2 separate regions of the Homo sapiens genome follow, and region 2 is linked to region 1. The links are contacts of gene promoters, found by promoter capture Hi-C in human tissues and cell types (Jung and others, 2019). All regions are on one chromosome and are shown on one strand. Each heading gives the region's core, a stretch centred on a gene start or on the middle of the fragment in contact. The rest is flanking DNA. Distances are from core to core; before and after follow the strand shown. Region 1 holds the start of POMT1 (protein O-mannosyltransferase 1). Region 2 overlaps NTNG2 (netrin G2).

Region 1 (5,472 bases), core at 2,357-4,856:
TTCTCCCTTGCCATTTGGTTCCCCTGTGCCAAGTAGCTGCAGGCTGCCCCTCAAATCTTCATTTGTCCCTTTTCACTTCCTGCAGAACAAGCCTGGGTTAGAGGGTCTGCTGGAAATGGCCTTTGAAGACCAAGGATACCAGGATGTGTGCACTCTGTCGTGTTCTGTGATGAATGGGAAACGTAGGCTTCCAGAAAGCCAGCTCTCTTCTGAAATGTGACGGACCTAAGCAGGAAGTCATCCAGGACAGGAGTGGCTCAGTGTTGGGGATGGACGCTGTCGCCCAGCCATGCTCCACCAGGGCCACCAATGTGTAGTTGGCTGGTGGTCTTCGGGCATGTGAGACCTGCTCTTCACTGTTTCCACCCCACTTGGTGGCCTCCAGGATGGTAGTGGCACCCTCAGAGCCCCATCTTCAGCATGTTCTGAAGCCTCAGAGTGGAAATTCCTGCTAAGGCTCTGTGTGGACGCCTTTCTCCCGTGATCTAAAGGGGACACTGTACTCAAGCTTTTGACCTCATGCCTTGTGTAGTAAAAAAGGATTTGGGGGTTTTGTTTGGTTCCTGAGAGGGTTGTGTTTTGTTTTTGTTTCCTTTTGTTTATGTTTTGGCCTTTCCTCTTTGTCTTTCCATGTAGACCAGATATTTGAAAGGGCAGACGATGGCTAGAGGTGTAATGTGCAGCTTGTTTATACGGTATTTTGGGAAACTTACCTTGGATGGGAAATCGAATCGTGGATTCACCAGGCCGGTGCTGGCACACTCACCCTCGCCCTTTCCCTCCGGTTCAGTACCTATTGTTTCTCCTTTCAAATATGTGATTGTACTAGCTCTTTCCATATGAAAGAATTCTCCTTATTTAAATAAAAAAAGTTTAAAAAGATAAAGCTGAACGTGCTTTCTCAGGTTGTACATCCCTCGTTTCTTGGTCATTTGACCAGAGAGACCTACAGATCAAAGAATTCTAATTTTACAGAGTTCACACGGAAATTAGGAGTGGCACGGCTGAAATGCCTTAACAGAAGCTGTGTGGGTAGAGAAGGGATTGAAACCCGTGGCTAAGAAGCATCTTCCAAATGCGGCAGCATCAAGCACTCCACCCTCTTCCCACGGATGGCATCTGGTTGTGCACAGTGCCTGCCTGTGGCCCCGTCACTTGCCGTGAGAAACGAGCTGGTCAGAGGAGGTAAGCATTTGATGTGGCGTGTTGTGTTGTCACTTCTAGCGGTGCTTTTGCAGGAAGTGGAGGAGGATTATGCTGTGCTTTGGGGTGGGGAGGGAGCAAGCCAGGCCTGGGGTAGCGAAGGGTAAAAGGTAAGAATGGGCTGAGGCAGCAGTTCTCGGTTTTGCCATTGCCTCACTGACCTGGGGAAAGACGTTTCACCACCTGAGTCAGTCTCCTTAATCATAAAACACAGATTGTAATGGTATCGACCTCATGGCGTAGTGTGGATTCAAAGTCACCAGTAGCTTTTAGCTTAGTGCCTAGAACCAGCTAAGAAAACTTATAAATTACCCCCAAGAAATAAAACGCTGTTTCCATGAGGAACCCCAGTCCCTCAACTTCCTTCTAAGCCTTTTGACTATGGAAGAGAGTTGGGGACCTGGCCATGGGCATCTCAGCTTTAACTAGCCACACTCACTGCCCTGATTTACTGCTCCCTAGGGACAGGTGGCTCACAAAATCTCAAACGGAGACCAGCCCTGAAAGAGGCTAGTCCTAAGGTTGGGGGCTTGCAAGATGGAGGCTGTAAGTCCTGAGGCACCACCACTGTTAGCATGGCATGAACCAAAGCTTAACAGCCCAGCCCCACTCCCTCCTGGGGCCCAGGGAACCCTCCCTGCCCACTGTAAATACAGTTGCCTGCAGGCTCTGGCCACAAACCCAGGTGAGCCCCAGCTCCTTGCCTCTCTGTGGGATCTTGGGTGAGTCACATAACCCCTCAAGGGTAAGCCATAAAGAAGTAACCACGAAATTCTAACTGGTGTCATCTAATGCTATGTTGCCCAACATGGAAAAAAAGTCTTGCAGGCAGCCAAGAACCATAATGAAGGTTATTAAACCTGCAGTGTGCCCTTTTGGTCTGTATAGATTAACATACAAATAGACCAGGAGATCAAGAAGGAGCGAGGCTGAGAAGAGTGATCCATCAGCCTGGTTGCGTTGCTGTCAGTTACCCTGCTCTGGGTGCCGACTGTTCAGGGAAAACATGGGAAGGGGTGCATTGACCCAACCAAAAGTACCATGTCTGCTCCAAAGCAGGCCTTTGGGAAGGCTCTTGACCCTCAGCAGAGGGGGCTGGAGAGGCTGATGGATGAGGAGGAGCCCTGGGAATGGAGGAAGAAGCCTCCAGTCTTCTGCCACGGAGTTTAGGGGAGATGCCCCCACTGGAGCCTCTGATGGTCATGCAGCCCCCACTGATGTCCAGGTTTTTTTGGTTTTGTTTTTTGTTTTGAGACGGTCTCACTTTGTAGTCCAGGCTGGAGTGCAGTGGTGAGACCAAGGCTCACTGCAGCCTCGACCTCTCTGCCCCAAGTGATCTCCTGCCTCAGCCTCCCTTGTAGCTGGGACTGCAGGCAGACGCCAAGGGGCCCCGCTAATTTTTGTATTTTTTTGTAGAGACGGGGTCTCGCTGTGTTGCCCAGGCTCTCCTGGACTCAAGCGGGCTCACGGATCCTCCCACCTCGGCCACCCAAAGTGCTGGGGTTACAGGCGTGAGCCACCGCCCCCGGCCCTAGGTCCGTTTTAAATGCCCTTACCCTCAGCCACTTCACCGCTAGATGTATGTGCAAGCAGGATCGTGGCATCGATGTTTTTCGGCAAGGAAACTAGGAGCGCCCGCGGGCGTGGGGGCACGTGCCTGTGGTCTCAGCTGCTCTGGAGGCCGAGGAGGGAGGATCGCTTCGGGCAGAGAGGTCGAGGCTGCAGCAAGCCGTGGTCCTGCCACTGTACTCCAGCCTGGGCGACAGAGCGAGACCCCGTGTCTTAAAAAAAAAATTAAGGTCGGACGCAGTGGCTCACGCCTGTAATCCCAGCACTTTGGGAGGCCGAGGTGGGCGGATCACTTCAGGTCAGGAGTTCGAGACCAGCCTGGCCAACATGGTGAAACCCTGTCTCTACTACAAATACAAAAATTAACCGGGCGTGGTGGCGTGCGCCTTCAATCTCAGCTACTCGGGAGGCTGAGGCAGGAGAATCGCTTGAACCCGGGAAGCGGAGGTTGCGGTGAGCCGAGATCGCGCCATTGCACTCCAGCCTGGGCAACAAGAGCGAAACTCCGTCTCAAAAAAAAAGAAAAGAAAAGAAAAGAAAAAAACTAGGAGCAAACTGGCGCGCCCGGCAGAACGCCGTTGTGCAGACGCAGAATTAAGATCTTCACGCCAGATGGAGTGAAAAAGCAAGGAGCAGAAGATGGGTGGGAGCCCACTGCGCTTTTTAAAATCTGCACGTCTGCTTAGAGTACACAGAAATCCTGGCACACAAAACAGTAGCACCCGAGAGAGGGGAGGTCGCCGCGTTTCACACCTGCCTCTCCTCCGGGACCGGCGCCCTCGCCCGCTGCGCACGCGCGTCACCCTCTCCCAGTGCGCACGCGCGCTGCTGCCCGTCTGGCCCCGCAGGCTCGGTGAATCGAACGTTGAGCAGGGCGGTGGGTGGTGCGGAGTGCCGAGCGGCCTCACCCCCAACCGTCGGCCCAGTCGGACGGTTCCGAGGCGTTGCCGGGAGCCGGGCGCGGCTCTGTGTGGACTCGGAGAAACGCGGGTACATTTGGGGACACCGGGGACGAGAGCCCAGCCCGGACTTGGGGGAGTCCGTCAGTGCCGGACGCGGGTCCCTGGCTTGCGGACGGGCTGGGGCCGGGGGCGTCCCCGTCTTTCCGGAGCTGGGGGCGGGGTTCGGGCCCGGGCAGATGCGGCGTTCGGGCGGCCGAGCCCCGAAGTAAGAACTCCGTGGCGCGTGCAGCCCTAGGGAGGAAGGGCGTGCTGCGGGTGCAGTCTCAGGGTGAGGACGGAGCTGGGGCCGACGCAGCCTCGGGAGTTGGTGGACGGGACAGGTGCGGCCTGTGGGGAAGAAGGGCCGGCCAGGGAGATGCGGTCTGCAAGGGGAGAGGAGGCACTCCCAGGACAGATGGGACCTTTTGGGACGAAGGCGCTCAAGGCAGATGCAGCTCAGGGAGGGAAGGGCGCGTCCAGGGTAGATGGGGCCTGAGGAGACCAGCGGGGCGCCAACGGCCAGATGCGGCTTTGGTGTGAGACAGGGTGTCCCAGGCCTGATGCAGCCTCAAGAGAAGCGGAGCTCAAGGGAAGATGAAGCCTGGAGGAGAACGTGGGGGCGCAGGGTGCAAATGCACCCTCCAGGCGAGAAAGGGAGCACCCGGGGATGATGTGCCGCTGGGATAGAAGGCAGGGAGGCACTGGGGGCAGATGCATCCTTGAGGAGAGATGAGGAGGCCCCGAGGCTCGGCCAGGTTGGGGTCCCTGGGCTGTAAGCAGCTGAGATGGCACCCAGGAGCTGCCCAGGGTCAGGTAGCTGTGGCCGCACTGTGGGCTTCTGGTCGTCGGGGAGGGAGGGGAGAAACCCTGGCGTTCCTTAGCAGTGTTCTCGCGCCCAAGACGTGCTCGGCAGGTTTTGTGGAATGAGTTGTTGAAAGGAGTGAATGTCCAGTCCTGAGATCCCCTGAATTCCCACCCGAGTTCACTGCTAGTGCCCCTCACCCCACATGTCTACCTGAACCAAGGCTCCAGGAACTTCGGTCTTTCTCAGCAGCCCGGCTGTGCTGTGGTTCTCCTCGTGTGTCCGGGAGCCGGGTGGCTGGGGATCCCTTCTGTAGCCTCTCGTGAGCCCTCATGGACCACGGCTCCTCCCTTCTTTTCTAGGGCGTCTGCCTGAGCCCGCTTTTCTACAAGATGTGGGGATTTTTGAAGCGCCCTGTAGTGGTGACGGCTGACATCAACTTGAGCCTTGTGGCCCTGACTGGGATGGGGTTACTGAGCCGGCTGTGGCGACTCACCTACCCGCGGGCTGTGGTGTAAGCTAAATGACTCCATTCCCAGGGTGAATCTAGAATTGTACTTTGTGACAGGAGGCGCCCTTACTGAATAGCATAAATGGGAGAGTGAAATCCTGGCTTCTTGGTGATAGGTGTTTTTGGCAGTGAGAGGAGAGACCAGTCTGTCCCCAGGACAGCCCCAGCAGAGTACACCTTTTAGGTCTTGCCTTCTGAGTCTGTAACAGGTGAAATTTGGCCCATTAAAGGGGTGCAGTAGAGGAAAATCTGGTTGCCAGCCTTAAGTAACAGTTTTAAAGTCTGGACGGCAGAGGATTAATGGATTTGGAAGTAAGTCTTCACTGTTGAGAGCACTTTTTAGAATGTGTTTTTGTCATAATGGGAAGTGATTGCTGTTATTATTGAAGGGCTCTTTATTAACTGATTAATGTGTGTATGTGTGTGTGTGTGTGTGTGTGTGTGTG
Region 2 (5,195 bases), core at 2,335-4,834, 730 kb after region 1:
GCCGAGAGGGCGCCAGAAAGAAGCTGGACCCTGCAGGGACGCTGGTCTGCACAGCCGTCGTAAGTTGCTTCTCTGTGGTGTCCCCACCCCGGCAACCCCCCAACCCTCTCTTGCTTTTCCCATCTCTCACCAGGCATCAGCAGGTCCCAGAAAGACCCCGACCCCAAAGGCCCTGTGGCCACTGCGGCCACCACAGCCATGACAGGGGCCCCTACTACTCCTGTCCCCTCCACGTCCACTGCCTGGGCCCCCATGGCGCCCAGCACCCCACAGCCCACAGGTGGGTGCCAGGGTACAGCGACCCCTGTCATCCCACCCTCTCCTGCTTCTAGCCTGGGTCCCTGCCTCTCTTGGGGTGGGAGGGTCGGCAGCCCTGGGCAGAGAGCAGGGGCTTGGCTCTTAGAATAGAGACGCTAGAACCCTAGAGCTGGGAGGCCACAGGCCAAAGGGGCTTGAGGACACCTGGGTCAACCTGTTCCTGAGCCCAGCCAGGGGATTCAGGGATCAGTTCAGCTTCCAAAGTCGTCTTCCTCCTGCCCTTCAAGCCATTGCTTGGAAGGGCTCCCAGACCATTGTGGCCAGACGGCTGCAGGAACTGAGAGGAAAGGTGCTGGGGGCAGCGAGGCCATCCTGACATGCAGCCAAAGACTGGCCTTATCTCCCAATGGTGCTTCTGCCTCCGTGGTCCCTGGAGCCCCGCCCACACCCTGTCCCCACCTGGCCCCCAGGGCCTCTCTGTCCTTAGCCCCTCAGCAGCACACCGGTGGGATGGATGGAGCAGGGTTAGCCCAGAAAGCAAATGTCTCTGATCAGCAGGGCAAAGGGAGCCTCTGGAGCTGAGTTTGGACACCGTGGGCTGCTGGGAATGTGGAGGCTGTGTGTGTAGTGCAAGGCCAGGCCAGGGCCAGACGTCCTGCCCCCTCAGGGGTCTGCCACAGACAGGCATGGAAACCTGATTCTCGCTCCCCTCCAACGGAGGGATTCACGTGTATTCAAGGCTGGGGGTGCTGGAGTGGGCCTCTGCTCTCACCTGGACTCACCTGGGGAGTATCCCTGCACTCTGTGCAGTGCAGGTGCCAGGGGTCTGAAAGGATTTATCCTTCCCAGAGGGCACCAGGAAGACGATGACCAAGGGGAATTCTTCCTGGTCCCAGCCAGGGAGGGGTGCTCCAATAGCCTGCCACACCCTGTCCCCCGCCACCCTGCAGGGAGGACCTGGTGGGGACTCCTGGCCCCTTGGGTAGTGCCCTGGCCCTCCATCTCTCTGATCCAAGGAGACCTGCCCCACTGATCCTTCCCCCTTGGGGGGTGGCATTTCTAAAGGGCAGAGTCCCCTCCATCAGCTCCTGCCTCGGCCTGTTGCTGGGTGGACACTCAGGCTCCCCAGACAGGGGCAAATGCTGAGAGAAAGACCTCCTCCTTCCTAGGCCATCCAGAGCAGCTCCCCTGGGGGCAGCACACCCCACCTCTTTCTACATCCTTCCTTTTCTGCAGGAGGCATTTACAGGAGGCAGGGGCTAGCCAAAAGATTGGAGGATTTCCGGGAAGCCTCCTGACCCAGGAATCCTCTTTGGGGTGGAAGACATGGGTCACTCTGAGAATTCTGGACTTCAGACATAGGTTGGCCCAGCCACAAGGGACCTGTGCTTTGCTGCTGAGCCTGTGGTGGGCAGACAGAAGCAAAAACAGTGGTGGTGGGTGCTGTGCCTGTCTCCAAACAGGGGTTTGGCTGGGAGGCCAGATACTCTCCATATCACATGTGCAAGTGCACACATGCACACACACACATGCATGCACACACACAGGCATGCACACGCACATGTACACACACACACACACAGAGGAATCCATTTGCAGAGCTGCTTCTGACTTGGTGCCAGGGCAGCCGTGGGAGGCTGGGCAGATTGTGCAAAGTTGGGAATTAAAGAGGAAAAGTCAGAGGCCAGAGTGGGAAATGCAGGGGAGGTGAGGGTCCCCAGGACCCCCTCAGTGAGCAGAAGGCACACCCTCCCTCTCGGCAAGACAGTGCTGCTCTGCACCCTCAGCCCTGTATCAAGAAGCAGGACATTAGGGGAGGAGGTGGCTCCAATGTGACAGCCAGTGGCCCCTACAGCCCACATCTAGGGGCTCCTCCCTCCTCTTCAGCAACTGAAGCCCCTGTCCAGAGCCCCCATTAATGAAAACGATCATTGCAGTAGCTGAGGGTGAGTTCTCCTGGGCTGTGCTCGTATCATTGTATCATCATATCATTGTATTCTGGGCTCACAGCTCCGTGAGATGGAGGCTGTTATTTTCCTAGTCCCACAGGTGAGGGGATCGAGGCTTAGGAAGAAGCAGCTGGATTTTATGATATGTAAATTACACCTCAATCAAGCTGTTTCAGAAGAAAAAAGGGGCAGCTGCTCAAGGTCTCAGAATTATGGAGAGGCACGGGCAGGATTTGAACTCAGGGCTCGCCAACTCAGCCACCCAAAGCTATTGTCCTGAGGCCTCCAGGGGCTATGAGGTAGAGCTATCTTTTTTTTTTTTTTTTTTGAGATGGAGTTTCGCTCTTGTCGCTGAGGCTGGAGTGCAATGGAGCAATCTCAGCTCACTGCAACCTCCGCCCCCCCAGGTTCAAGCAATTCTCCTGCCTCAGCCTCCCGAGTAGCTGGGATTACAGGCACCTGTCACCATGTTCAGCTACTTTTTGTCTTTTTAGAGAGACAGGGTTTCACCATGTTGGTCAGGCTGGTGTTGAACTCCTGACCTCAAGTGATCCACCCGCCTCAGCCTCCCAAAGTGCTGGGATTCCAGGCGTGAGCCACCGCACCCGGCCAAGTAGTGCTGTCTCCAAGGCCTGGCTTGCAGGGCTTCCCAGTTCCAAAGGAGCAGACCGGGCTTCCATGGGGCCTTGGCACAGCACACAGGCCATGGCGAGAACTTGCTTCCCACACACCTGAGTGTGTCCCTGGGCAGCCAAGCCAGGACTCTCTCCCTCCCCAAGACCCTGGTCCCTGAAAGATCCTGAATACCCCCGAGTGCCTCCCAACAGGTGCTTCGGGCTCTTTGAACAGAGTCCAGCTGGGCCTCTGAACTCCTGGGCCAGATGTTTCTCCCGCCTGCCAATGTCAAGCTGTCTGGAGGACAGCGCTGCGGGCGGAAAACGCCGCTGGAGACACTAATCCTTTCCTGGGCTGGGCCACGGAGGATGGAGGGAGACAGGCTCTGAAGCAAATGCCTTCAGGGCTGGCTTTCTCATGGCTCTAATTAAGCCCTTGCCAATTTGGGCCTGGCGGCCTCATCTTCCCACTGAACATCATATTAAAGTCAATTCATGTCCAAAGCTCCCCGCTCCCAGCTGGAAAGTCTTCCGCACTTGTTAGCTGGTAGCTTTTCCTTTTCTTTCCCCACAGCCACCGTTGTGTATAATCCCTTCAAGAAGCGGAAAACAGCAGCGCTCCCCTGTCCCTCTGGGTTTGTCCTTTGAAATTTGGGCACAGGGCAGTTCTTTGCCAGCCCTGCCTGCCTGCCTTGCTGGCTGTGTGTCCCGTTAGTCTACGGGCTGAGCGTTGTGTCACTGGTTCATGCTGGGGTCCCTGGTGAAAATGGGCCAGGCCAGGGGTCAGGAAGGTAGAAGGGCAGTGATCAGGGAAGCAGGTCAGATGCTGGGGAAGGCTCCGGTCCCTGGATTGCGGCTGGACAGGAAGGACACCTTCCAGGACACTTCTGGACACATGTAAGATCTTGGCCGGAACACATGTCCCACTTCGCAGCCATTAGCCAGAGACATCAGCTCAGAGAGGTCTGGGCCCAGAGGCGGGACCTGGTCTAGCTCTGTCCTTCAGTCAGAACGGGGACGGCACAGGGAGTGTAGAAGGGTCTCGCTGAAGAATATGCAGATTCTCAGGCATGGGTTCACCTCTCATCTATCGGGCTTTAAGTCTGCATGTGCCCTCCACAGGCTGAAATAGTGTAGATGCTGCCTATGTAGTAGATTTGGACCCAATTCCTTTGGCCAGTGTAGACAGAGCCTCTCCTTATAGTGCTGCTGCTTCTAAGGGGCCTGTGGGGTGCGGGGCTGTGATGCCTCAGTATGTACCCAGCTTCCCTCAGCACCACCCCCTCGCATAACTTGGTTTCTTCTCTTCTTCCCCCCAAGAGTGGACCAGGCCATCTACGGCTGCCCCTCTCTCGAGCAGGTGGTCCCAGGTGGCCTCCCGTGCAGAAGGTATGGGGGGGCAAGGCCTGTGATGGGCCTGAGACCCCGGGGAAGCGCCCTCTTAGACTCGTAGGCCCCTCCCTCTGTAGTGGAAGTAGCAGGTGTGCATGGTGGGGACCTGAGGTTGGAGGGGGGCCGCAGGAACCAACTGAGGGCACGGGTGTAGAATGTCGGTGCCTGGGGAGCTCTAGGGCACAGTGGTGAGGGAGCGGCCTGGTAGAGCAGGTCTACCAGCTCTGCCCCCAAGCTCACCTGCTTCAAGAGGTTCCATGTGGCACCCCCACGCCAAGCCCTTCCACCAGCACTCCCTCCGAGGGCTTCGGAGTCTGGTAGAGGCCCCGCCTCCCACGACAGGAACCCCCCTCTCCAGCTGCCCTTGCTCACAGGACACCTGGGCAGTTGCTGGATCAGAGAGTCAGAGGGGGCTTCCTGCAGGAGCGGGGGCCATGAGACCTCGGAGGGTGGACTGTGGTGGGTGAAGGGAGAAGGCAGCACATTCCAGGCCGCAGGGCCAGCCGGGGCAAAGGCTTGGCAGTGGGATGGCAGGGAGCCTGACAAAGTGGAAAATGTGTGGGTTAAAGGAGGGAGGGCGGGGTCCTGGAAGACACTGACATCCTCCTGCTACGTGGGAGGAGACACAGGGCTCATCTGTAGCCATAGACAGACATGCCAAGGAAACGCGCAGGCCTGCCCGACTCTCCAGAAGGGAAATTGTCCCTGGCCCCAGCTCACCAAGCCTGGGTGGGGAATTAGGGCCTGAGGTCTAGGGAACAGGTGAGCTGTTCCTTCCAGCTCACATGTTCAAATTTCCTCCAGCCCCAGCTCTGAGCAGCGAGCAGGGCTTTGAGCGCCCTCTACTGGCAGGAAGCTCTGGCGCTGGAAGCATGTTTAGAGAGGGTCTGAGGCTCGGTTCCTAGAAACCTGGAGGACCTGGGCCTGGTGTCCTCTGTGGTGATGGAGACAGAGCTGGCGGGAGCCATCGCTTCCCTACCCT

Evidence for each region. The method cuts DNA at HindIII sites, captures the fragments that hold promoters and counts their contacts. A contact is called where the count stands out against the background at its distance.
Region 2: a contact is called between a fragment that was not itself captured here and the fragment with the promoter of POMT1 in region 1, in 2 of the 25 tissues and cell types used here (IMR-90 fibroblasts and lymphoblastoid cells).

Annotation. Positions count from the first base shown.
Region 1 is chr9:131,499,312-131,504,783 of GRCh38, forward strand. POMT1 (protein O-mannosyltransferase 1) reads left to right here and starts at 3,607. Exons shown (of 20, transcript NM_001077365.2): 1 at 3,607-3,762; 2 at 4,878-5,029. The coding sequence starts at 4,908. It overlaps PRRC2B (proline rich coiled-coil 2B), which reads left to right. Exons shown (of 32, transcript NM_013318.4): 32 at 1-882. It also overlaps the pseudogene LOC124902290. RefSeq lists enhancers at 705-1,904, 3,393-4,260, 4,261-5,126, 4,498-4,557, 5,038-5,117 and 1 more and silencers at 3,508-3,707, 3,778-3,927. The HindIII fragment of the contact is 15,044 bases long and covers 1,152-5,472 here.
Region 2 is chr9:132,231,510-132,236,704 of GRCh38, forward strand. All of the region lies in intron 5 of NTNG2 (netrin G2), which reads left to right. Among named protein-coding and RNA genes, the nearest start is that of NTNG2, 72 kb to the left of the region's middle. The HindIII fragment of the contact is 6,849 bases long and covers 161-5,195 here.